Linked DNA regions of Homo sapiens: regions 1, 2, 4, 5, 6 and 7 are each linked to region 3. The links are contacts of gene promoters, found by promoter capture Hi-C in blood cells and fetal thymus (Javierre and others, 2016). All regions are on one chromosome and are shown on one strand. The core of a region is centred on a gene start or on the middle of the fragment in contact, and the rest is flanking DNA. Distances in the headings are between cores, read along the strand shown.

Region 1 (3,531 bases), core at 256-2,755, 800 kb before region 3:
AGAGAGAGCATGGGGCTCCCAAGTGGGTCTTCTGGTTTCCTACTGAAATGCAAGGGATTTCATAGAGGAGCTTGAGGAGGCGGTGTCTCATTTACATAGGGATCAAGAGATTAGTCAGACCAGGTGTGCTGTTTGCATAGGGCGTGAAGAAGCTGGACATCTCACCCTAATCTTTTATTATGCAGATGAGGCCTCTACCTGGCTGGCTCCATGCTTTTTTACCACTTATGTAGCCACAAAAGGGAAGAGGGAACCTCCATGTTGAACATACCTGGCCCTTAGGTAGTGTGTTTCTATTGGCACAGTTGCCACATTTACCTGTGAAAGCTTCTAGCTTGCTTATCTGTGTCTGTGGCTTGATTTTACCGGCTGCTCTTTGTTAGAAAAGAAATGATTTGGCGGGTTGCTTGTGTTAAAAGGGAAGCCTTGCCAAGAACTCTCTTACCCTCATTAACTGCCTAAATAATTTCTTTTTATCTCCTGTATCCATTGAACATAGGTATTAACCTCTGCTTCTCTCTGAAGTTCCAGTAAATGACAGTTACAGGATTTTTTTTTAAAAAAAAGGGTTTAAGAAAGAAGAGATGAAAGAGGAGAACAGAATCATCAAATTTCAGAATCCAGGAAGCAGGATAAATGACATTTTATCCCAGACATTTTATCTCAGACACAGGTCTGAGAAAGCTGATTCCTAAGGCAAACTCTAGTAGGGATCCGAAGGCTGCAGTAGACCAAACACATCTGGGAGTAAGGTTAAGAATGACCAGAAATGAGGGATTGGTGAGAATTCAGCTCAAGAAGCAGGTACATCCATCTGAATAACAGGAAAAAGAAGAGAGAAAAGAAATTATTAGAGAAAAAAAATTCAAGAAATTAGCCAGAATTGTAGAAAATGAGTTTGTACATTAAGAGGGCTGTGCTACTGTGATATAATAAGAAATATATATTTTGGTCTTTGTATTAGTCTGTTCTCATGCTGCTAATACAGACATACTTGAGATTGGGTAATTTATAAAGGAAAGAAGATTAATGGATTCACAATTCCACATGGCTGGGGAGGCCTCACAATCATGGTAGAAGATGAAGGAAGAGCAAAGTGACATCTTACATGGTGGCAGACGAGAGTTTGTGCAGAAGAGCTCCCATTTATAAAACCATCAGATCTCATGGGACTTATTCGCTATCATGAGAACAGCATGGGAAAGACCTGCCCCCATGATTAAATTACCTCCCACCTGGTCTCTCCCATGACACGTGGGAATTATGGGAGCTACAATTCAAGATGAAATTTTGGTGGGGACATAGCCAAACCATATTAGTCTTCCACTAAATATTTGATTTTATGGCATGTAGCTCCTAAAACCCTTGGAACCTCTGACATGATAAGCATCTTTTAGTATGCTAATGAGATGACTGGTGGCTGGAGACTCCTGGACAGGCACTGGACGAGGCTGCTTGTCAGAGGAACTAAGCAAATGATTAGAGGGTTGGAACATCCAGCCACACCCTTCAACCTTCCACCAGTGGAGAGAGGGCTGGAGATGAACATCACAAACAGCCAATGATTTAATCAATCCTGCCTGCTAAATGGAGCCTCCATAAAACCCCAAGAAGACTGTGTTTGGGGAGCTTCCAGATTTCTCAACGTGTGGGGGTCCTGGAAGGGTGGCTCACCCATGGAGGGCATGGAGCCTGCGTGCCCCTTCCCTCATATCTTAACTTAGGCATCTCTTCATCTGGCTGTTACTGAGCTGTATCTTTTTATAATAAACTGATAACAGCAAAGTGCTTTTCTGAGTTCTATAAGCCACTCTAGCAAATTGTCAAACCCACAGAGTTGGGTGTGGGAAACTCTGGTTTGTAGCCAAGTAGGACAGAAGTTGTGGGTAATCTGGGAACCTACTGTTTGCAACTGGCCTGCAAAGTGTGGGGCAGTCTTGTGGGACTGAACCTTTAAACTTTGGGGCCTACATTGATTCTGTTAGTGTCAGAGTTGAATTGAACTGGGGGGCACCCAGTTGGTGTCTGCCAAGAAGTGGAGAATTGCTTGGTGTGGTAACACTCCTCCCCTGTCTCTTGTCAGATGCATTGAAAGTGACGTATCAAGAAGAAAACAGTGTTGTTGTTTTTTTTGTTATTTATTTTTTGTTTTTTTCCTATATAAGGACCTATTGAGTGTACAGCATAACCTATAAAAATAAAACCACACCAAGCACTTCATTGTGAATTTCAGCCATGGGGGCAAAGAGGAGTACCCAAAAGCTACCAGGTAGAGGAACCTCCTTCTCCCCAAAGCAGCAGGAGGTTCTTCTGAAGGATCAGGAATCAGATTGGCTTTAGATGCCTCAAAAACAATACTAGAGGGAAGAAGTCAATGCAGTAAACTTTTGATATCCCAAGGGAAAATGATTTACATTAGAAAATAGAGACATGTTCACATCAAGTCTTTGTCAAATTAGTTCTCCACACATGGATGGTCTTGAGAATATGCTCCACCAAAACTATGAACTAAACTAGCAATAAAGACACAGGATCCAGTTATAGGAAATCCAAACCCAAGTTGGTGGTTAAGAAAGAGCCAGCTGGGGACTGGGAAGAAACCTGTCCAGACTAGAACAGGTCAGATGTCACCAGAGATGAAATAAAGATGCAATCAATAAAATTAGCTCATGTGTGAAGCTTAGACACTGGAGGAAAAGTTTGCAAAGTTAGTGACAGACATTTGCACAACTAAGCAAACACAAGTGTGATGATTAACTTCAAGTAAAACCAAAATATTGCTCATAAAAAGGAAAAGTTATTATAGATTAATATGTGACCCAGCATTGACCTAACTATAATAAGGTAAATACTGTATAGTAATCTAACTAAACTAATGAAGATGATACTTGGGGGTCAGTCAGGTTGAGGGAGAGTGAATGAGAGTGAATCTTGATTTTCCATAGAGAGAACCCATTAGATAGCCTCAAAATAGAAATATTAAAAGTAACAGCATGAGCTATTTAGAGTTATGGAAGTAACTATGAGCAACAGCAACAAAAAATCTATCAGAATTTAAAGTAGTTTTCTCTAGAAAGGGGAGAAATCTCGGATATATTGGACAAGGTGTGAGGACCCTGTTTTAAGCACATTAGGAAGCCCATGGTCTTCCTACTATGCTTAAAAGAATTATGTGCATCTATAATTTTGATGAAATTAAAAGCCAAACTGAAATATGCAGAATAAAAGAACCAAAAAAAAAAAATGACAAAAACGTCACACGTTGTTCATTCATAATTCTGCCCAAGTAATTGTTTTTTCAAAAAGTCTGACATTAATCTTTTAAGCTCATCTCCCAAGATGGTGCATTTGTTTTTAATTGATTTCCATGGAAAAGAAGAACATCTAAATGAACACATAACCTAGAATGTTACCTAGAATTCAAGTGAGTAAATTGTTTTCAAACAAAGATGATTTATGATTAAAAATGATTTGCTGATTTGCTGTGTGAATGTGGTAAGAGTTCTTTTGAATGTTGAGTGTTTGATGAGC
Region 2 (3,630 bases), core at 398-2,897, 590 kb before region 3:
GTGGATAAACAAATGGGGTATATACATGAAATGGAATATTATTCAGCCATAGAAAGGAATGAAATTCTGGCACATGCTACAGCACAGATGAACCCAGAAAACATTATGCTAAGTGAGATAAGTCAGACATGAAATGACAAATATTGTATGATTCCATTTACATGAAGTACCCACAATAGGCAAATTCATAGAGCTAAATAGTACATGAAAGGATACCAGGGGCTTATGGGAAGAGGAAATAGGGAGTTACTGCTTAATGGTTACAGAGTTTCTGTTTAGAGTGATGAAACTTTGGAAATAGTGGTGATGGTTGCACAACACTGTGAATATAATTAATGCCACTGAATTGTATATTTTAAAATAGTAAAAATGGAAAATAACATTCCACAAGTCTTATTGAATAATGATGTAATGTATCAAAAACCATCATTGTGCATTTTAAATGTGCAAATTGCACAATATATGAGTTACATCTCCATAAAGCTGTTTCAAAATAAAGTCAATTGGAGGTTGAAGAGTAGGAGCATAAGACACTTTAGTGCTCTTGCTATCCTTTCCTTAAAAGAATAGATGGGAATAATAATAATATTAAATGAAAATAAAAGTTGCTAACCTCACTATGAAAACCTACGGAGTCTGAGCACATTCTGGGAAATGTGTGGGAATCAATACCTGGATGGACTACCATAATGCCCGTTCAACATTTATGCATTTAAACACTTGCAAAATGAGTTTTCTATTGGAAAGACTTGTTAAATATATTCTATTTCACCCTCTATCTTGGCAGAGCTGGTTATATTTCCAGAATGCCTGTAGGTGTCTGTGATGGATCATTGCTGCCCTGTCCCCACACCCCTCATCTAGGAACTTTGCAAACTTCAAGGATTGCTTTGTGATCTGAAGGGCCCCCTGGTAGTCTGTGAGCTGCGTGGCTTTGCCAAGATTGCTAGCCTGCCAAGTCTTCGGCCTCCAAAAGACTAGCCAGGGCTTCCTCATCTGATGAAAGTACAGAAAAAGGCCATGTGCTTGGCAGACTTGGCCAATTCCCTCTGCTTCATAGAGAAAATAAATCTGTAAAGAAGTTCAAGGGAGAGCTACCATCTGGTCAGACTCCTGGCTTTCTCAATATGGCTCCCAACACCTACTGCCAAGTGTCAAGAGGGCTTCCTGTGCTGGACAGAGGCTGGCGTCGGTGTTCAGTGCCAATATGCTAAAGTCAGATGGGCCCCTGATGAGGTGGGGATCGTCAGACTGGTTTCAAACTGCAGTCTTGTCACCGCCACTGACACATTCACAGAATGGTCAACATTTCAGCAATAAAAGTTGGAGCAATTTCATAGCTGGCCCTGTCATTGCAGACTATCTGTTAATTTCTTGAACAATCTATAAGACATCCAACTAAAAACCTACCCAATAACTACAGCACTGTGCATCCTAGATGACTCAAAGGCAGTGCCATTGGAAAAAGCTGCAGAACTGTTTTTATAGTGCAGACACTTTATTTGCAGCTAATTTGGCCTGCTTCCTGCACACTCAGATCTTCAATTCTAAAAGCCAAGCCAGTTTTTCTTTTGTTCAGGGCTGTTCATGCTGCAAAAGTTCACATCTAGTAAGATACTTTTCTTTGAGAGAAAATGGTGATCTGAAACTTGTGCACTTATTGCATTATTAGATTAGCCGTGAAGATCTGCTTGGTTTAAACATTAATCATGTTTACTCATTGATGTTTCATCTTTAATATCTGAAATTAGTAGTAATAATAAATGTCAAAATATTGACCTATACTAATATTTCTTATTTTTATGAAGATTGGAAGTCACTGATAGGGTATGCAAAGTTTGAACCAAAAGGGTCAGTATCACTTTTTGGGACTCCACGAGAGAATTTAATATTCTTTATTATTGTCCTTTAGGTTTATAAGCAAAGCCAGTACATGAATATTTTTTGTCTCTAACTAAAGACTCTCTTCTGTAAGTTCCCCAGGGAAGCAAAACATCTGTATGCAGCTGTCCTTCAAACCAAATTCTTCAGCACCGCATGCCACAAACAAAGCCTCAAGATCAAACCCATCCGTGAGTGATTTCTTATAGCTGGGCTGTGCTGCTGTCCCTTCAAATTCAACATAGTCACCCTTCCTTGGCTTTCTCTCTCTCTGTCTTTTAACGTATGCCTAGCATTCTTCATCCCCCTTCCAAAGCTGGGAGTCCCTAAGACACTCCCTACTCCTTCCCCCTCTCCGTCTAGTTGGGCATCAGGTCTGGTTGGTCCTGTCATTGCTCCATCTTTCTCATGGTTACAGCCCTCCTTATTCTATCACATGGATGACCACAAAATTCTATTCCTTCCCATCATATTTTTGACCTATACATATTGTCATCCTGAGTGTTCCCAAAAGTTGCTTTTACTACATCGGCTATAAAATTTTAAAAGGAAAAGAAAGGAAAGGAAAGGAAAGGAAAGGAAAGGAAAGGAAAGGAAAGGAAAGGAAAGGAAAGGAAAGGAAAGAAGGGTAGGGGAGGGGAGGGGAGGGGAGGGGGGCGGGGAGAGGAGGGGAGGGGGGCAGGGAGGTGAGGGAGGAGAGGAGAGGAAAGGAAAGGAAAGGAAAGGAAAGGAAAGGAAAGGAAAGGAAAGGAAAGGAGAAAAAGGGAAGGAAGAGAGAAAGAGAGAATTCCCTATTGCCCTAGGTATCCCATAGAATAAAATGAAAATATACAGATGTGTTCTTCAAATCCATTATGCATGCAGCTCGTTACTTTGCTACCCATGATCTCCCTTGCCAAAAAGACCAAGAGGGCACCCTTTCCACTAAGTTGCTCCATTTCTCTGATTATCACCTTTCTGAAACAAACAAACAAACAAACAAACCTTTCTTGGCCATCCCAAACCACTGTCTTCATGCCTCTAAGACCTTGTAGATTTCACTGAAAGTATAGCTTTTTGGAATTTATGATACATTTGATTATTCTTTATTTTATTCTGATACTGTTTGCATTTGTTTTTACATGTCCTGCATCCCCAGCTAGATGTTGAATTGCCTGAGATGGTGTCTAGATCCTGGCATCCTCAATGGCTAATACACTGCGCTCTGTTTATTCATACCGATCAACATTTTCATTAGATCTGTGATGTACTTACTGGTTATTGTGCTAGGCCTGAGGATGCTGCAAGTGAATAAGACATTCTCTGCTCTCCTTGAAGTTATAGCTTATCGAGGAAGAAAGGTATGGATTGTTAAAGCTGCAGGATATGTAAGTAATGAAGTTTGCAGTGCTACACATGTGTATGTTACCATGTGACTGTCTTAGTCTATCCCTGCTGCTCTAACATAATAGTCGAGACTGGGTCATTTATAAACAACAGGAATTTATTGCTCACAGTTCTGGAAGCTGAGAAGTCCAAAATCAAGGTGCCTACAGCTTCAGTGTCTGGCAATGGCCTGTTCCTCATAAATGGTGCTGTCTAGGTATCCTCACCCGACAAGATACAAGAGCAAAAAGCTAGCTCCTATACTAGCTCCCCCAGTCCTTGTATGAGGCACTGATCCATTGTGAAGGTGGAAAACTCCCGACTTAATTGCTACCCAAAGGCCCCATCTCTTAACATCAACATAATGGGGATTACGCTTCAATG
Region 3 (3,752 bases), core at 79-2,578:
ACCTCTGCGCCGGCCGCATTTACCCCGCCCCCCTTCCAGCGCCCGCTTGGCCCAGGTCACTAGACGGAGCTAGTGGGGATCGCCAGGGGAAGGAAGGTGCTGCCACAGGGAATTTTCTCGTGCAGAGGGGAGACCTGCAATCCCTGGCTTTCACAACGTCCCCCACCCACCCCATACCACACACGCTTAGTTTAACCAGCAGCGAGGAAGGAGGAGGAGCCGGAGAGCACACAGCCTGGAGATGCCAGGTCCTAGGAGATGTATCCACGGAAGAAGCTTTGCTCTCACACTGAAGCCCTCCCTGGGCTACTTTGGGGAGACAGTACCACCCCCTGCCGCCCAGGTGAAGTAAGCCCGAAAGCCTCAAGAAAACCCCTAGTCCCCGGCGTCCTTCTCTTGATAACCCTCTTTCCCCATTTGGGAAGCCTAAGTTTAGCCGAAAAGCAACTGCAATAAGTTTCCCAAGGGCAGATAGGTGATGTTGGGGGGAGAGGGTAGGGAGCACGAGAGTGCCAGAGAGGTCTTCAGCTGCGCACAAAATCAGCAAGCTAAAGTGCATCTTACTTACCAAGGATTTGGTCTCCGGGTTTCCCATCGGCGAACTGAAACTGGTCCGTGAAGAAGTGGCAAAGTAACATAACTCCTGCAGCGGCCAGGTCGGCCTTCGGGAACCTCGCCATGCCGCCGCCGCCACCTCCCTACCCCACCCGCCAGTCCTTCGCCGGTGCTCGGGGGCTCCCGATGCAATAGGCACGACCGGGCCAAACGCTGCGGATCGGTCTCGGTAGGACCCGGAGGCCTTTGTAAATGTCGCTGCGATTTCACAGTAGGGAACCGAGAAGAGGAAGAAGCGAACGCGAGTAGGAGCGCAGCGCTCTTCGGACCTCTGAGGCTCTCTTTGCAACTTGCCACACTCGCAGCCCTCACCCGACACTGAACAACAACCGCGGGGAGGAGAGGCCACTTGCAGCCGAGGCTCGCAAACTGTCGGTTCCACTCGGGCAGCGCCAACCCGGTGCCCGCGGACGGTGACTTCCGAGCCCCAGCGATGCGCTCCACTGGGTTCAAAACAGATCTAATTCCACAGCCAGCGCCGCTGCCTGCCCCAGATCCACTAGGGCTGGTCGGCTCTGCAGGAACTTTCCTCTGTCTAGGGATGGCCCCGGCAGGAGGTTTAGGTTTGCGGGAAGGAGGTTGATGACGAAACCCTCCCGACAAGTTTTGCTTCTTTTCTTCGCCCGACGCAGGGCGCGCGTCCTTTCTCGCAGCCGGAGGAATGGGCAGCTCCAAAGAGCTGAGCCCTGGGAAGGTTAGGGCTGCAGCAGTCTGAGGTCCGAAGCCAGGAAAAAAATGTGTTTAAAAAAAAAAAAAAAAAAGAGGAAGAAGAAAGGAAAAGGGTGGAGTGGGAGGGAGTCACGCTGGAACCTATCGGGAGAGGGTTCCTCCGGGCTCAGGAGGAGGTGGCCCCAAGCCCCCGCGGAGCCCCAGGAGTTTGGTGGCGGAGGAGGCGCTGCCGTCGCCACGCTCCCCCGCGCTCCTTCTCCACACTTTGAGGAGGGAAGGCAGCTCGCAATTTGCCAGATCTGCCGCCGCACCCTCCTCCCTCCTCCCTCCGCCCTCCCCTTCGCTCCTCCAGGCTTCTCCCACCTTCCTCCCTGAAACCGGCAGCCCGCACAGACCTGTCCAATGGCTGCACTTTCCTCGGGGCTGGCTGAGGAGTCGCGGCCAACAGATTAAGCCGGGGGAGCCTAGCGAAGGGGAGGGAGAGGGCCACTCCAGCCCCGTGCGCCCCAGGCAGCCGGCTGCCCCAGAGCGCGGGGAGAGGGGACAGGCCGGGGAGCTATCGGGGGAGCGCGGGGCGGTACCTCCGCGCCGCCGGGGCGCCATCCTCGCAGCCTGCTCGCACGCCCTGGGCAGCTCCGCCAACTGCGCCCCACACCCACCTGGCTCCCGGGCCGCCTTCGCGCCCGACTGCGGGGGGCGATCGCGCCCCGCCCCGACCCTGGCGGGGTCTCCCTGGGCACGAAAGGGTTAACCACAGCTCGCCCCTTCGCGGAGGCTGGTTCTGGTAGTGGCTAGGGAGTGGAGAAAGCAAACCAGAGCCGGTTCGGTTACCGACTCTGCGAAGCCCCCTCGACCCCAGCCCAGCGCGGGAGGGTGGCGGAAGGTGGTGCACCGCAGCGTGGTCCCCGCCGCTGCCGCCGCGGCTTTGCAAAGTGTCAGCGGGGGCGAAAGCGAGAGTTTAAAGGAACAGGAGGCCCATTGAATTTCCTACCGGAGCTTTCAGGGGCTCTGGCTCCCCAGTTTGTTTTTGTTTTTTCAGCTCGGGGATCTGTTTCCGCGTTAACCCTTGCCGGCCCTCTCGTTAGTTGATATCTTATTTTGCATACAGTTAATCATTTTTGAAAGGGATAAATACAAGGAAAAGAAGCAAAGCGCTATTGGTTAAAAGTACAGGATCTAGAGCCCGGACAGCCTGGGCTGGAATTTCACCTCCCCCGCAATGAGCAGTTTATCTCCTAGCCTCAGTTATCCATCCATCAAATGGAGAGAATTAGAGTAACGCCCTTATAAGGTGGTTGCAATGGATTGGATGAGTTAACTGTATATTTAATAAATATAGAACATTGCCTACCGCAAAGTACATGGCTTTGTTTAAGTGTTTACTGAAGCAAAAGTGAGAGAAGACGACTTCAATCACATAATAAATGTGCATGTGTTCTAAGTTCAAGGTCCTTTCCACTCCAAGCTCTGAAGAGTCTATGGATGCTGTCAATAGATGTCTCGGCTTGCCACAAAACCCACTGGAAGTGGATCCGGATAATCAATCTACCTTTGCAAATGTGATGCTCAAAGGACGGCTCTCTCATGGGAAACAAGAAAGGTTTCCCTTAATCCAATACTCAATTTGCTCTTTATTTCCAAACAACAGATATACACGTATAAACACAAACATATATCATGCCTATACTCTTTATTATGCCAGGACCCTGGCTCTTTCCTGAGCTTTCCTCCCATAGGTTGATTTCTACTTAGGTAACTGGGTTTTTCTATTTCTGCTTAACTAGGAGTGTTTAAGTTCTATGTAATATTACATCCGAATTTGAGTACCCGGATATATACCTGCTTAAAATCAAGTTTGAAAACTGAGTCTTCTCATCAAAACCTGATTGTGCGGTTGACCCTTGAACAACAGGGGTTTGAACTGCGAGGATCCGCTTTTGCATGGATTTTCTTCCTCCTCTGCCACCCCTAACAGAGCAAGACTAACCCCTCCTCTTCCTCCGCTTCAGCCCACTCAATGTGAAGACGATGAGGATGAAAGCCTTTCTGATGATCCACTTCCACTTAATAAACAGTAAGTATATTTATCTTCCTTATGATTTTCTTAACATTTTCTTTTCTCTAGCTTACTTTATTTTAAGAATACAGTATGTAATATGTAGAACATACCAAATATGTGTTAATCAACTGTTTTTATATTATCAGTAATGCTTCTAATCAACAGTAGGGTATTAGCAGTTAAGTTTATGAGGAGTCGAAATTATACATTAATTTTCTACTGTGTGGGGGTCCGTCCCCCTGACCCCCATACTGTTCAAGGGTCAACTATAGTTTAATTGATGCCGATTCTTTTTGAGGATCATAAATCCATGCGGAAAGCGTCCCAAAATATTCTGCACAACTCCAGCTCCCATCATATCTAAAATAATGGGGAATCCAGCGGAAACCATTTCAAGAAAGCACCTCTT
Region 4 (3,340 bases), core at 278-2,777, 540 kb before region 3:
ACTAAAGTCTGACTCTGCAATCCATTCTCCTTCCCAGATTTTTGCAGAATTAAAATTAATTTTGTAGAGGGAAAATATATAGCATCTGTGTGTGTCTCTGAGAGTAAAGGCAGATAAGACGACTAGGAAATAAATAGACGAGATCATGGGTAATTGTTAGCCCTAACCACATTTCTCTGCATTTTACTTTCACAAGTATTGATATTTAGATTTGAGGTTGAAATTTTTCATGCTTTTTCTCAGCCTGAAGGTAATTTTTTTTCTGGAACATATAATTGAAAGCAATGCATGAACGGAAAATACTTTTTTTCCCCCATTTTAACTTCATTCTTTGGCTATTTTTATATTTGAATAACTTGAAAGGCCAAACTTTAGAGCTGAAATGTTCCATATGCCCAGTTTTACTTAGGAAGAGACTGTTGGCATATGCACAATGGAAAAGCTGAGTACTGTGGTTGACAAACAATTGAAAAAATAGCCTTTGAATATGAACAACATGAAATCTTGTGTTGTGATTCAGTGACTTGCATGTAGCTGTGGTTTGTCTCTAATATGTCTTTGTAAAATTAGATGCTTCCTTGTAGGATAATTAAATGTTCTTTATTTACCTTTTCTTTGGATATGTCTGCAAATTATTTCCAGTAGTTGATTTGTGATTTTAAACTTTCAACTAAGAAGAAAAGTTTTTATCTTAACTTTTCTTCTCAATTGCCATGTTCATCTCTTTTCAAGTGCTCCATTTCATATTCAGTTGTTTAAAAACTGAAAAATGCCCTTTTTGAAAAGATTTGATTGAAGTTTTATCATATTGAAAAATTGAAACCAACTGGAAAGTTGAAAGTTGTCCAACTAAGGGAGAAAGGTTTAGTATTCAGCCAATGAAACACTAGCGAAAATTTAAGAGTTGTATTAAGATTACTGTGTTATACAAAAAAATTACAATGTACGATTAAGTGGAAAAGTGGGAAACAAAATTATTTCAATTTTTATTGTGAAGTATATCAAACATCCAGAAAATAACCTATAAAGTATATTGAAAAATTCTTTCAAATCTAAACTCAGTGCTCCATTTTTGTAAGACACTTTAAACACAGAAACAAGGTTTCAAACATGGTTGAGGCCTTCATCACTGTCCTTTTTTTGTTTTCGATTTTTTTTTTTTTTTTTTTGAGACCGAGTTTCACTCTTGTTTCCCAGGCTAGGGTGCAGTGTGCAATCTCGGCTCACTGCAACCTCGGCTCCCTGCAACCTCTGCCTCCCAGGATCAAGCAATTCTCCTGCCTCAGCCTCACAAGCAGCTGGGATTACAGGCATGCACCACCATGCCTGGCTAATTTTTGTATTTAGTAGAGATGGAGTTTCACCATGTTGGTCTGGCTGGTCTTGAACTCCTGACCTCAGGTGATCTACCTGCCTTGGCCTCCCAAAGTGCTGTGATTACAGATGTGATCCACCACACCCGGCCACACCATCCTTTTTGAATCCATGTTATTCACTTATTCCTCAGTTAACCAGTAAGAGGACCTCATGTTTATCATTCTTATCCATGGTTTTATATTGATAAACATATTTTTATATATGTAAGCAGTGCATAGAAATTAGGTGGAACATTTTAAATTTTATGTAAATTTGATAAATTTATATATTCTGCAACTTGCTTTTTAATCCTCTTCCCAACATTATATTTTTTAGATTTACTCATGCCATACTTACAGATTCAATGTATTCATTTTTTTCTGTTATGTAATGTTGCATTAGATAACTATGCCACAATTTATTTATCTGTTCTCCTGTGGGTGGACATTTAGGTTGTTTCTATTTATTCACTAATATAAACAATGCGGATGAATCTCATTGAATGCCAGTTTCTTCAGGATTTGCACCTATAAGTGGGATTCCTGGATCATTGAGCAAGAGCATTTGCAACAATTAGATTGTTCAAGATGATTTCTGATATGATTTGGCTGTGCCCTTACCCAAATCTCATCTTGAATTGTAGCTCCCATAATTCCCATGTGTCATGGGAGGGACCTCGTGGGAGATAATTGAATCATGGGGTGGTTACCCCCATACTGTTCCCATGGTAGTGAATAAATCTCACAAGATCTGATGGTTTTATAAGAGGAAACCCCTTTTGCTTGGTTCTCATTCCCTCTTTGCCTGCCGCCATGTAAGACATGCCTTTCACCTTTTACCATGATTGTGAAGCCTCCCCAGCCACGAGGAACTGTGAGCCTATTAAACCTCTTTTTCTTTATTAATTACCCAGTCTCAGGTATGTCTTTATCAGCAGCATGAAAATGGACTAATACAGTTTCCAAAGCATTTGTATACATTTATGCATCCACCACCAGGAATTGGTGCTCCTGTTTTTCCAAATTCTCACCAACATAGTTTTGTCAGATATTTAAATTTTTCCCAAAAGATGAATAGGACATAATAGTCTATTGTTTTAACTGGAGTTTTCCTGATGTAATCTTTCATAACTGCTTTGGCTATGCTAGTTTCCTTTGCATCAGTTGCTTATTTTTGTTTTCCTATTGGGATGTTTTATTCTGATTGGGTCATACAAATTCTTTAGGTAATCAGAAAACTAATTTTTTTTTGGCTAAAATTCCCCAATTTTGTTCATTCTTCAAAACTGCAGTAACTATTCTTGGTAAGTAAGTTTTCTGTATAAATTTTAGAAGCACATTTTAAGTTTGACAGAAACCTTGTTCAGATCTTGATTGAGACTGCATGAAACTTACAGTGTAATTTGAGGAAAATGAACACTTTTCTCATATTTCCTCCAAACCATGAGCAAGTTATACATTTTCACTTATTTGGATTCTTTATGTCCTTCACAAATATTTTATACATTCCTCAACAGAGATCTTGCATGTTTCTTGTTAAGTCTATTTCTAGGTACCTTTTTTTTTTTTTAATTGTGAATGTGATCCTTTTGTTAGTGCAATTTTTTTTAAGTGTATTGCTTTATTTGGTAGGTTTGGGGAATACATCATGGTGAAAGAATAAATGAATTAAAGTACTACCGATACAGGGACCAATAACGTTAAAAGAGGCATACACAAAATGAGTAGCTGAAATCATTTTCATAAGAGGACTTGACTCATGGAAGAAAAATTTTAATTACAGTGGCAAAAAATTCTGTATAAAGTAGAAATTGGTTTCAGTAACAGTAAAGAATGTGTGCTAGAAAGTAGAGGCAATTGGATGTAAAATTCTGGCAGCAATTTTACAGAACAGTCTCAGATGGTTAGGCGGAGACCAACACCTAATTGGGACAAAATTGTGTGCGGGAAATTTTGGATGATACTTGGAGAAATATCATACTGCA
Region 5 (3,515 bases), core at 501-3,000, 960 kb before region 3:
TTCTGTGGTTATTATTCTGTGATGCTTAGACTACTTGAACCCATAAACTTGGAAGAATCTTTGAGCAAATTTTCTCAGTTGTCTGTATGACTTCAGTATATTCCTGGGAATGCCATAGGATTTTTTGTGCTTGATACATGGTATCCAGTTTGCATAGTATCACTTCTTTGTAATCCAGTTGCTGTTAAGAATGATGTACTTTAAAGGAAAAGAGAAAACTGCATCACAGTCCCATTCTCCAGTGTCCATGCAATGAATTGCTGAGCATTTAGGAAGCAGCACCAAGTCTATTACAGGCATGGTGTGAAACTTGATGTTTGACCTGTGATCAAAATTGAACCATTGTACAGTTTGGCTTCTGTTTGCTTCAAAATATGTAGAATTGTGGTTGATGATTAATTTGCGAGACTAACTTTGAGAGTGTAACAGTTTTGAAGAAAACATTGAATGTTTTGCAAATGAAGGGGCTTCACGGAATGTTACAATGTTACTAATATAATTTGGCTTTTGTTATGCAAATTGTTAACACCAGCTATTAAAATATATTTTAGTAGAAATGCTTTAATTCATATTTTTTTCCTCTACACTGTGAATCTTTAAGCCTTGGTGGACTAGAGCAACATCGTGCTGCCCAAAGGACTAACCTATGCAAACTAGTTCACATTTTAGTGGATGTCGCAGTTAATGTGTAATAAGACATTATTTCCCCTGCATAATGTACAACAGCATTGAAATGACACATTAAGCCTAGCATCACATTGTATAGTACAGTCACTCACAAACCCTTCAAGGCTACCCTAATCATTAACATTAATATTTGTTTAAAAGCAAATCACCGATTTATCTATTGAAACTACTTAAATGACGGCAAACCAGGAATGACAGATGGCTGTGTCAGCAATGGCTTTAATGTGTTCCCTGCAAGTGGTCTCCTATGATAGAACTGCGTTCTCAAATGCACTCTCTTCAGGGTCTTAATATTCTGTGTTTTCTCTCTGTATTTGTAAAACATTATAACACATTAATTTCCTATCTCTACACATTTGGTTTGCTTAAATAAATGCAGGATATAAAAAAAATGGTTCACTTCTTGGCTCTCACCGTGGTTTCTTGGAGCATGGGTTGTTAGATGCAAGCAATGCACCCTAATAATACCCCGGGTCTGAGATTTAACATGACAACTCACATCAAATCGCATCAGAGGTGTGTGCTGCCTTCAGTGCATTTACATTGGTGAATCAGTCAAGATATTTTCCTCCCCCAAATAAACTTAGTTGTAAGTGATAACAATATTATGCTTCTCCAAGCTCAGTATCTTTCTGATTTTATATCAAAGTACCGCAACAATGCATCATTGTAGTTAATTTATTTCAAGAATAAATTCCTCATATGTCCTCAATAGTACAATTCTAATTTTCTTCTATTCATAAGATGAAAGAAATGGTTTGGAGCATAGAATAGAAAGTGCACAAATTGAGTACATAAAATGGGAAGCAACTGATTTCTCAGCTAAGAAAGGCTCATTTATCACAGAACACAATTGCTTTTCTCCCCCCACTACGCTTCCCATAATTGAAAAAGTGAGTCCCTATTTTTCACACTCATATAAATCTATGCGATTTGGATGCTAGTCTTATTGTATTATTTTGTAAAACTTTCTCTTTGGCTCATAATCCTTCCTAATTGTAAATTGATAAACTTTGCGGATGACATCTGCTCGTAGAATAAACACTTCTTCCAAATATTGGATTTTCTGTTTTTCATATTCCGTAAGTATGAAATGAATATTTTAATAGTATTATGAATCAAGCACACTGTATTTGAAATCACAAGACAGCACAGTTATTTATTTGAAGAATTCACTACCTTTTTTCCCTCTGAGACTTTTTTTTTTTCCATTCGATTATAAATTTACTCTTTGTAACCCAGGCCACAGAGGAAATGAATACCTTAGATTTTTTTTTTTCTGACAAAAAATAATTTAGCTTTTAAACAGACTGTGCTTATAATTTTATTTTCTTAAACATTTGTGAGGTTTTACGGGTAACTATGACATGCGCACCAAACAACTTTTCTACCAAAATAAGTTTCTACAAAAATATATAATAAACTAAAAAGTAGGTAAAAGGGGATTTTTTTTTTTCTTCATATAATCTGCTTTGATATGGTTTGGCTGTGTTCCCACCCAAAATCTCATCTTGAATTGTAATCCCTATAATCTCCATAATCCACACGTGTCAAAGGAGAGACCAGGTGGAGGTAATTGAATCACAGGGTCGGTTTCCCCTATGCTGTGCTCGTGATAGTGAGTTCTCACGAGATCTCATGGTTTACTAAGTGTTTGGTAGTTCCTCCTCTGTTTATTCTCCTTTCTGCCACGTTGTGAAGAAAGCGCCTTGCTTTCCCTTCGCCTTCCGCCATGATTGTAAGTTTCCTGAGGCCTCCCCAGCCATTCTGAACCGTGAGTCAATTAAATCTCTTTCCTTCTTAATTACCCAATCTCAGGCAGCTCTTTATTGTAGTGTGAAAATGGGCTAATATATGCTTCTCCTACACAGAGGGATTGAATATGAGTTTTGTTGTGGCAGAAAACTGGATATGGTCCAGTTGTGAACTTTAGCTCCTTTCTGTCATTCTAAGCAAAATTCTCAGGCCTTTGTCTATTATATTTGTATTTGGCAGCTGCAGAGTTCTGACAAAAAAAAGCAGAATGAGAAAATGGATTCAAAAGGTGAAAAGTCAATATTAGAACCAAGAGTCTAGTTGCTGATTTTGTGTTTACGTTGTGGCATTTTAATCTTTGTAGCTTCCCCTGCCCCCCACCCCCCAGTTCCTTTTCTGTTTTGAGCAGCAAACATGAAAGGGAATAGTAAACTAAAATAGAGAAATGGACAACATCTAAACTCCTGTTATTCTACCTGAGGAAAGAGGAAACTTTTCTGCATCCCAAATTGAGTCATAAGATCACTCTTGAAGGGAACTAGTTTCTGATTCTTAACACAAGACAGTCACACTTCTTGCCTTTTTTTCCAGAGGGCTACTGTCCAAGGCTATGTGGCCCCAGCTAACTTTTTCATTAATTTTTGTGGATAACCATGCTCTGTCCTACATGCTCTCACTTCCCTGGTCCCAGCTGATTGGAATGAGGTGACTCTGCAGGGCTACACAAGGACTTTGCCTAACAGGGATGGTGGTGGCTGAACCTGCTCAGATCCCCCTGAAGAGGCCTGAGTTCAAGAGGGAAAGCAAGTTGGCTCTCAGGTTGTATGGTTAAAAAACGTAGAGAAAGAAGTCAGGAGGAAGCCTAAGCTGTGAGTAAGCAGAAAGTATAAGTAAAAGAACTCATGAAATGGGGGAAAAGATACTTAGCATAGACAGAGTAAAGTAGGTGGCTGGCAGTGGAGGAGTCACAGGGCCACGGGAGAAACAGGTTCTTGTTAATGGTGGTCCCCTTACGAGGGAACATCAGCTCCTGCTTCCCAAGGAGTACCCACTCTCCATCCCAGGCATGCAAA
Region 6 (3,737 bases), core at 955-3,454, 630 kb before region 3:
GTTTATGTACAATGTGATCAAGTTATCTAAGTTCTCGCCAACTTAAAGTTGTGTGGGAAAACAAGTCATCAATATTATTAACTAATGAGCAAAACAATGATAAAATTAGCACTCATTCAAACATTCCTCCAAGCCTAACCTCTTAAACATCCAATTATTCAATGCACACAGACTGCAAAATGAAACTGAAAATCTTGTGGAAAAAAAATACAGGACTTAAGAATTTGATGGAAAGGAAGGTTGGTACACTGTTTCAATTACAAGCCAAATCACGGACACATGAGAAGTTGGCACCATTCACCAATTAAACTAAGGGGAAAAAATACACAATGACGACTACACAATAGCTACTTCGAAAGGGAATAATTAGATTATTCAAGGATTAGGCAAAACCCCTGGGAAATCTAATGCAACCTTCCAATATGACCCTCTCTATGCTGCAGAAATCAAACATGAAGTATATAATCAAGTAATTATATAAATTTGAGAAAAAAAAAGACCAAAATTGCCACTACTTTAATGTTCTCAATTCTCTACTCTCTAAAGACATAGCTCTAACAACATAGCTACATCTGTAACAGAAATTTAGTAATAACAATACATAAAATGAAATAAACTTATTTTATAATTCCAGTTCTTCTTTTTAAGATTAAGACTCAACCCAAACTGGATTTTGAGAAAACTGTTTATTATGAAATTTTGGTTCCCATCCAGTTACCAACTATTGGCATATAGTAAAAGCCTCCTATTATATATATATTTCCTTTAGGAAAGTCACAACAAACAAACCACAGCAACAATAATAACAACAACAATAAACAGAAATAGAATGACCATCCAGAGAACTCACTATTAGCATCTGACCTATCAACCTTCAAACTTTTTCTTCCAGGCAACTATATACATGTAATTAGAGAAGTGTTCTTCTATAGCTGCGATTTGTAGGTTTCATTTCTTACCAACTATATTGTTTCTATTAGAGTTTCCTAAGTCTTTTGCCCGTGGAATACTTTCTTAGTTATTCACTTTTAAGAATAACTCTATTTTTGCTAATTTTCTGATCTGCTCCAGATTAAAGCAACAGCTTTTGGTGCTGTAAAATTTACTCATCCAAACACTAATGCCATAAAATGCCTCCATTTTATGAAATTCTGCAGTCAAATAGCCTGCTTGTCATCTTCTAGAGCAATATTACTCAATTTGTTTTCATTATTGCCCCCCAAGGAGCCTTTTTAGACACATTTTTCCTAATTGGCCACCAACGACTTTTTAATACTACAGCTACACTATGTTTGTATTCTATGACCTTTGGGAAGGTATATTAATTGTCCCGCTATTTCTGCTATAATAAATTCCTACAAACTTAGCAGCAACAACACACATGTGTCATCTTACAGTTGTACAGGGATATCTGTCTGACACGGGTCTCATTGTGCTGGAGTGGGGGGATCACCAGGGTTGCATTTCTTTCTGGAAGTCTAGAGGCAAATGTGTGTCCAGCTTCTGGGGCCACCCATATAACTTTGCTTGTGATGGCCCTCCTCCACCCTCAAAGCAAATGTGGGATCTCTCTGTGCCTTTTTAGTCCATCTTTGTCTTCCACTTTTAAGGACTTTTGTGGTTACATTGGGCACACCTGGTGAATTAGTCCATTTTCGGCTGTTGATAAAGACATACCTGAGACTGGATAATTTATAAAGAAAAAGAGGTATAATGAACTCACAGTTCAAGTGGCTGGAGAGGCCTCACAATCATGGTGAAAGGTAAAAGGCACGTCTTACATGGCAGCAGACAAGAGAATGAGAGCCAAGCAAAAGAGAAACCCCCGCTATAAAATCATCAGATCTCCTGAGACTTATTCACTACCACAGGAACAGTATGGGGGAAACTGCCGCCATGATTCAATTATCTCCCACTGGGTCCCTCACACAACACATGGGAATTATGGGAGCTACAATTCAAGATGAGGTTTGGGTGAAGACATGGTGAAACTGTATCACCTGGTAATCCAGGCTAATCTCCTCTCTCCTTTCCAGGTCAGTTCATTAGCAACCTTAATTGCACCTACAACCTTAATTCCTTTTTCTCAGCTACCATAATGAGGTCACAGGTTCTAGGGAGTAGAGAATGGACTTCTTTGGGAGGGTGAGACCCTGGAAAAGCATTATTCTGCTTACTGAAAAGGGAAATAAACCACTGTAATACCTGAGGATTTTCTTGACCCCTAAGAATGAATGTTTACCCCCGTGGGAGCAGTGTCACCTCCTGCTGAGAATCCACGCTTACCAGTTGGTTCTACCATTATCTCTTCTTCTCTTCATTATTGGACTTCCAGGCCAGTGTACAATATCCCTCCAGACAAAAGTTCTTACTAGATTATAAAAATTTTTCTAAATACACATATGCATCTTAATGCACACTTTTAAAAATAAAATGAACAACATACCCATTTTTTCAGTATAGAAAATCTCATTGTTGACCAAATACATTTGTTGTGCTCTTTAAGAGCCTTTAAGCTATCCGGTTAGCCTAAGAGGCTCAAAATAGTGTCGAATGGAAATTTCTCCATGTAATCATTAGAAATACCAGGTACTGAAATGTAGACTGGAAAAAATGATACGTACTTAAAAGTTTCGTCTAGGTTGTTCAATATTTCTAACTCTTAAATCCACTTGCTATAAATAATCTATCTCTGGCACTTCTGAAAAATGGAATATAGAAACTGCAGCTAAAAATATGCAGTCTCCAAGGAAATGATCAACCCTATAGTTTCCTTTTGTTTTTTTAACTGGAGGTATAGCTGCAGAACCAGCAAGAAATCTGACATTTTGGGCCTGGAGGCTATTCTCACTAAAGTCTTTTTCCTTTTCTTTTTTTATTTTTCTTTCCTTTTTTTTTTTTTTTTTTAAGGCCTTGAGCCAAATCATTAGGTTTCTGTTCTCTCTCTTACATCAATTAATGGTACCTGAAAATCCAATTCAATTTAATTTTCTTGAAATGGAAACCTAGGGAAAAGTCCTTCTCTTGTTCAAAGGAAACCTATCTGAAAAACTGTCCCCACTATCAAAGATAATTGTACTCTGGGCTTCAGGACATCAAAAGCATGCTCAGAATAATGGTGTCTGGAAAATGGGACAATTTTGAAACACATTTATATCTATTTAGGTAATTACTTGGGAAGGAAGGCCCTGATTCTATGCATTAAAAATAAAATCACTTCCAATGGTTGGGGAATTCTTTCAGTGATAAAACTTCCCCATTTTGCCCTCAGTCATTTTAAAGTCAAAGGATTTGGTGATATCTTCTCCCCAGCCTCCAAAAGTGGTATTATTTTTCATCCATGAGTTTATTAAGTTTATCAACTAAGAATTCCAATTATTCATTAAAATGTGCAAAGGATTAAGTCTGTTTTCAATAAGCCTGGCTTGACCACCCACTTAAGCCTGGCTTCATATCTATGTAACCTGGATCCCTCCCGAGGCTGTGCTGACACAGTGGGCTCTTCCTTCTTTCATCCTAATTGTGTCCACACATTACTTAAAACATCAACCACCCTTTCTTCATCTGCTGGAGAAAAACCTCTGTTTTCTGAATTAACAAGTAGCCAAAATGACCCACCAAACCCTCTTGTTGGCTCTAATAGGAACAGTCACCACCGCCACCACCAGCCCCAGCTCCTAGGCAGAGCTGCTGCTCCTCTGGGTTCTTGCTGAAGGCTCTATGCTCCAACCAAAGAG
Region 7 (3,742 bases), core at 744-3,243, 670 kb before region 3:
AAAATTAACAACTCTACCAAGATAATGCTACTGATGTGCCAGTGGCCTCTCAGGTGGTCTGACTATTCTCTCTCTCACTCTCTTTTTTTGTCTCTCTGTTTCTTTCCCACCCCTCTTCTCTCTGGCCAGTAAGTCCAGTGAAATATCCTTGTGAAATGTTGTGATTATTTTTAATCCAGGGGTGTCCAATCTTTTGGCTTCCCTGGGCTACATTGGAAGAAGAATTGTCTTGGGCCACACATAAAATACACTTTCACTAACAATAGCTGATGAGCTAAAAAAAATAGGTCAGAGCATAAATCTCATGTTTTAAGAAAGTTTGCAAATTTATTTTGGGCCGCATTCAAAGCCATCCTGGGCCACATGCAGCCATGGGCCGCGGGTTGGGGAAGCTTGATCTAATACAATAAAAACTTGTTTCTTTTTCTGGCTGCTTCTGCCTGGTACAAAGACAAAGAAGAGACTAAAACATTCTGTTAAAATTTATCTTGATTCACTTCCATGCTTGATGATTGGTTGAGATCTTGTTTTTCATAAACAGTTGATATTTTATCAAATAGCAGTGGATCAGGCTTAAGAGTGATAGGCCTCTAATCTTTTAGTCATTATCCACACTGATCAGATTAAATAATCACTATAATGGCTCTGCAAACAGATGGTGGTGAGTGATTTTGGTGGTGGTAGAAGGAATGAATAAATTGGAACGAGTCTTATATCTTAATAACAGATTAGATTCACCCAAAACCCCATTGTATATTGAGGTACTGAGTCATTTTTTTAGATTCTCTGTGCACAGTTGCATTTTCCGATATTTCCACAAAAAGATACATATATACACTTTTAGAAGAAAAATAAAACCAATAAATGCTATTAAGTTAAAGAGGATGTGCAATTTTCAACATTCCACATGCTTAAAACCTGGCAAGTTTCATTGAGTTCTAACCTCCACTAATAATTTTATTTATATTAAGGGTGGGACTGCTTTGCTGCTCCAAGTCAGAAAACAAAATAGATCATTAATCCCTGACACAGCATTTCATTTACTGATGAAATCCTCAAGTGCTTCTAATTTAGTCGGTCATTTTGCCCAGTGCTGAGCAGAGATTAGTAGGCTAAGCCAGTCAGTCTGGGTCTCCCATTCGATCACTGGGAAGGAAATATTTTCTCTTATAGCAGAAAAGTACCCTAAGCAAACCTTTAAGAGGTTTGGAAAGTGATATTCCTTTGCAGACTGTCGAGTTTTAAGTGCTTCTTCAGCATTTATAAAGCCTCATTGCTTGAGAAGGGGTTCATTTCCCTGGCTTTCTTTAGTCTCCCCGCCACTGTCCCACTTTGCTTCACAGTCCTGAAATTCAGCTAGCGGAATCTTTTTATTAGCAATTGAAACAATGTCCAGTTCAGGAGAGAAGGCTTCTATTTGCACTTACAGTCTAAAATGCCCTCATTAGGGATAAAAGTCCAGAGTTCCTCTTCTATATCTTAATTCTTATGGGAAAACTCCTCTGCCCTCACTGTCCCATCATTTTGTAGTTAAAAGTCTCAACTCAGTCTTATCTCCAGCTCTGTCACTTGTGTTTGACATATTTCAGCAGGTTGTCAAAAATGCTCAGACCTCAGGAATAATTAAGCTGCCAAAATTAAATTGGATTTTAAAATTTTTCATAGATACTGATCACTCACCCAAGACCCCCTTTGACTCCCCTCCTGTATAGATCCCCACTTCTCCTAGGTGGGGAGAGCACAAGGATCTCTTTACAGGAAGGACACTAAGTTTATATAAAAACAAACCCTGAATTTGAGCATCATTAGGAAGAAGGAAGTCTTTCGGCTGACTTCCTTTCAGCTCAAGTTAATCCATCAGGCTTCCCTAATGATCTGCGTTTTCTTTCCAAATAAAATCTTGGTTGTGAAATAACATAATATGTAGATTTAAAACTTCCACGAGTGGCACAAGTTCAGACATAACCAGGTCCATGCACATTTGTGTCTTTCCACAAGGTAAGACTTGTATTGATGCTATTTTAATTATAAAACCCGTGAGCTACATTGAGCTCCCAAGGAGGCACTTCTCCTTAGTATTAGCCATACACTCGGTAGCCAGGGCTGTGCGTATACATGCTCAAGCCACTCCACAGGTCAGTCAGTATTACAAAGTGTAGGTAATAGTATACTTAACCAATACATAAGTAAAATAGATCAAACATTCCACATCAAACAAACTAACATTTAACATCAAAAGAAAAGGGAATAGGAAAAAGGGGTTAATGAACCAGTCTAAGGAGAGTCACACGGACAAGGAGAGTGTCCTGGCTTGGTCCAGATGGATGTTAATATCTTGCAAGGAAACGTCTTTGATTTGGTCAGAACCTTGGATGGCAGATGCTGGGTACTGATCACCAGTGGCAGCAAGACAGGGTCAGTCAAGACGGCCATGTGTAGCTGGTGAAGTCCTGCTCATTTTATGGCCCTTGAGCCCTCTGACAAGGACTGGTAGTAAATGGTTACACCACTATCTGGTTGGGTGTTGTCTCTATTGATTAGGTGAGCACCTGGACCCGATGGCTTGATGCCTTTTAAAATGTAAGATGGAGTATTTTTCTAAAATGGAGTCACTTAGGTCAAGGGTATACAAAAACAATGGATTCAAGAAAAAGGAAGGACTATCTAAGATTTCAGGTGGCTTAGTTTTAACTCCAGAATGATGGAGTAATAAGAATGGGAGGTACAGTGAGGTATTAGGATGGCATTTTCCTAGAAAACTGCTGAACACACTATTGAGTCTCAGAGATGTTTGGCTCCCCCTGGGAAGGCGCTCAATTTTCCTCACTTACCCTACAGTGTGTCTCAGGCGTGGTTGCAGACAGAATAGATTTCTTGTGCCTCATGCCCACTTGAGGAATCCCAAAGCCAGTCTCATTCCAAAGGGAAAAGAGGGTCACAAACACCTCTAATAAGAGGTAATCCTATTAGAACAATCTGAAATGCTAAGGGTAGGTGCATGCTAAGTGTGCACTCTGAACAATAGAATCATACATTTCAGTGTTGGAAATACATAAAACCTATTGTTTTCATTGTGTTTAATGTTCTAAGCATTTCACATGTTTAACAACCCTTAAGTTTGATAACAGCTAATTTAGATTCTTGATTTTAAGCATGAGAATACTGAAGTGAAGACATTTTATAACTTGGCTTAAGTCACACAGGGAGTTAAGGGCAGAGGTTGAACTAGAATCCAGGTTTCCCAGTTTCAGGAAACTGGTAGATACTTTTAATACACCACGGAATGAGCACATTTTGAGCTACCATCTCTAATTCAAAAGTCCACTGTAACAGGGAGATGTTTGCAATCAACCAAAACTAAGTGACATTATTTAGTTACTTGTTATACTTATGTGCTTATAATGGATTATGATACTTCCCAGAGGCAAGATGTACCCATCCGTAAGAAAAAGAGTGCAGTGAACTAGGTTGACCACTCTGGGTTAATGCTTTTCAGTGTTTTTCTCCTGTTATCTCCACATTTCTCAGCTTAGCCAAGCTAACTCCACTACTTTATGTTTTCTAGGCTTATTAATCATGCCATTCAAAGCTTTTGGCTGAACTATGTATTGCTTTCTTTCTTTTTTTTTTTTTTTAATCTCAGCTATATGGATCCTACAACATAGGTGTTTTTACGTCTGTTCGCATTTATCTCATAAAACTTCTTGAAACTCTTCAGACTATAAACTGTGCCTTGTAATAA

What was found. The method cuts DNA at HindIII sites, captures the fragments that hold promoters and counts their contacts. A CHiCAGO score of 5 or more calls a contact.
Region 1: a fragment that was not itself captured here is called in contact with the fragment with the promoter of PLXDC2 in region 3 in 1 of 17 cell types (neutrophils); the score reaches 5.0 in neutrophils.
Region 2: a contact is called between a fragment that was not itself captured here and the fragment with the promoter of PLXDC2 in region 3, in 1 of 17 cell types (neutrophils). The highest score is 8.5, in neutrophils.
Region 4: a contact is called between a fragment that was not itself captured here and the fragment with the promoter of PLXDC2 in region 3, in 1 of 17 cell types (neutrophils). The highest score is 7.3, in neutrophils.
Region 5: a contact is called between a fragment that was not itself captured here and the fragment with the promoter of PLXDC2 in region 3, in 1 of 17 cell types (megakaryocytes). The highest score is 5.1, in megakaryocytes.
Region 6: a fragment that was not itself captured here is called in contact with the fragment with the promoter of PLXDC2 in region 3 in 1 of 17 cell types (neutrophils); the score reaches 5.7 in neutrophils.
Region 7: a fragment that was not itself captured here is called in contact with the fragment with the promoter of PLXDC2 in region 3 in 1 of 17 cell types (neutrophils); the score reaches 5.1 in neutrophils.

Annotation. Positions count from the first base shown.
Region 1 is chr10:20,611,743-20,615,273 of GRCh38, reverse strand. No RefSeq gene overlaps it. Among named protein-coding and RNA genes, the nearest start is that of MIR4675, 62 kb to the right of the region's middle. The HindIII fragment of the contact is 2,352 bases long and covers 330-2,681 here.
Region 2 is chr10:20,404,307-20,407,936 of GRCh38, reverse strand. No RefSeq gene overlaps it. Among named protein-coding and RNA genes, the nearest start is that of MIR4675, 150 kb to the left of the region's middle. The HindIII fragment of the contact is 4,109 bases long and covers 1-3,630 here.
Region 3 is chr10:19,814,008-19,817,759 of GRCh38, reverse strand. PLXDC2 (plexin domain containing 2) reads right to left here and starts at 1,328. Exons shown (of 14, transcript NM_032812.9): 1 at 569-1,328. The coding sequence starts at 680. LOC124902388 (a long non-coding RNA gene) reads left to right here and starts at 1,532. Exons shown (of 2, transcript XR_007062078.1): 1 at 1,532-3,358. RefSeq lists an enhancer at 1,639-2,404. The HindIII fragment of the contact is 8,470 bases long and covers 279-3,752 here.
Region 4 is chr10:20,351,428-20,354,767 of GRCh38, reverse strand. No RefSeq gene overlaps it. Among named protein-coding and RNA genes, the nearest start is that of MIR4675, 200 kb to the left of the region's middle. The HindIII fragment of the contact is 5,565 bases long and covers 1-3,340 here.
Region 5 is chr10:20,778,200-20,781,714 of GRCh38, reverse strand. NEBL (nebulette) reads left to right here. Exons shown (of 28, transcript NM_006393.3): 28 at 1-1,742. Among named protein-coding and RNA genes, the nearest start is that of NEBL, 120 kb to the left of the region's middle. The HindIII fragment of the contact is 5,709 bases long and covers 1-3,515 here.
Region 6 is chr10:20,447,880-20,451,616 of GRCh38, reverse strand. No RefSeq gene overlaps it. Among named protein-coding and RNA genes, the nearest start is that of MIR4675, 100 kb to the left of the region's middle. The HindIII fragment of the contact is 5,687 bases long and covers 1-3,737 here.
Region 7 is chr10:20,483,070-20,486,811 of GRCh38, reverse strand. No RefSeq gene overlaps it. Among named protein-coding and RNA genes, the nearest start is that of MIR4675, 67 kb to the left of the region's middle. The HindIII fragment of the contact is 3,197 bases long and covers 395-3,591 here.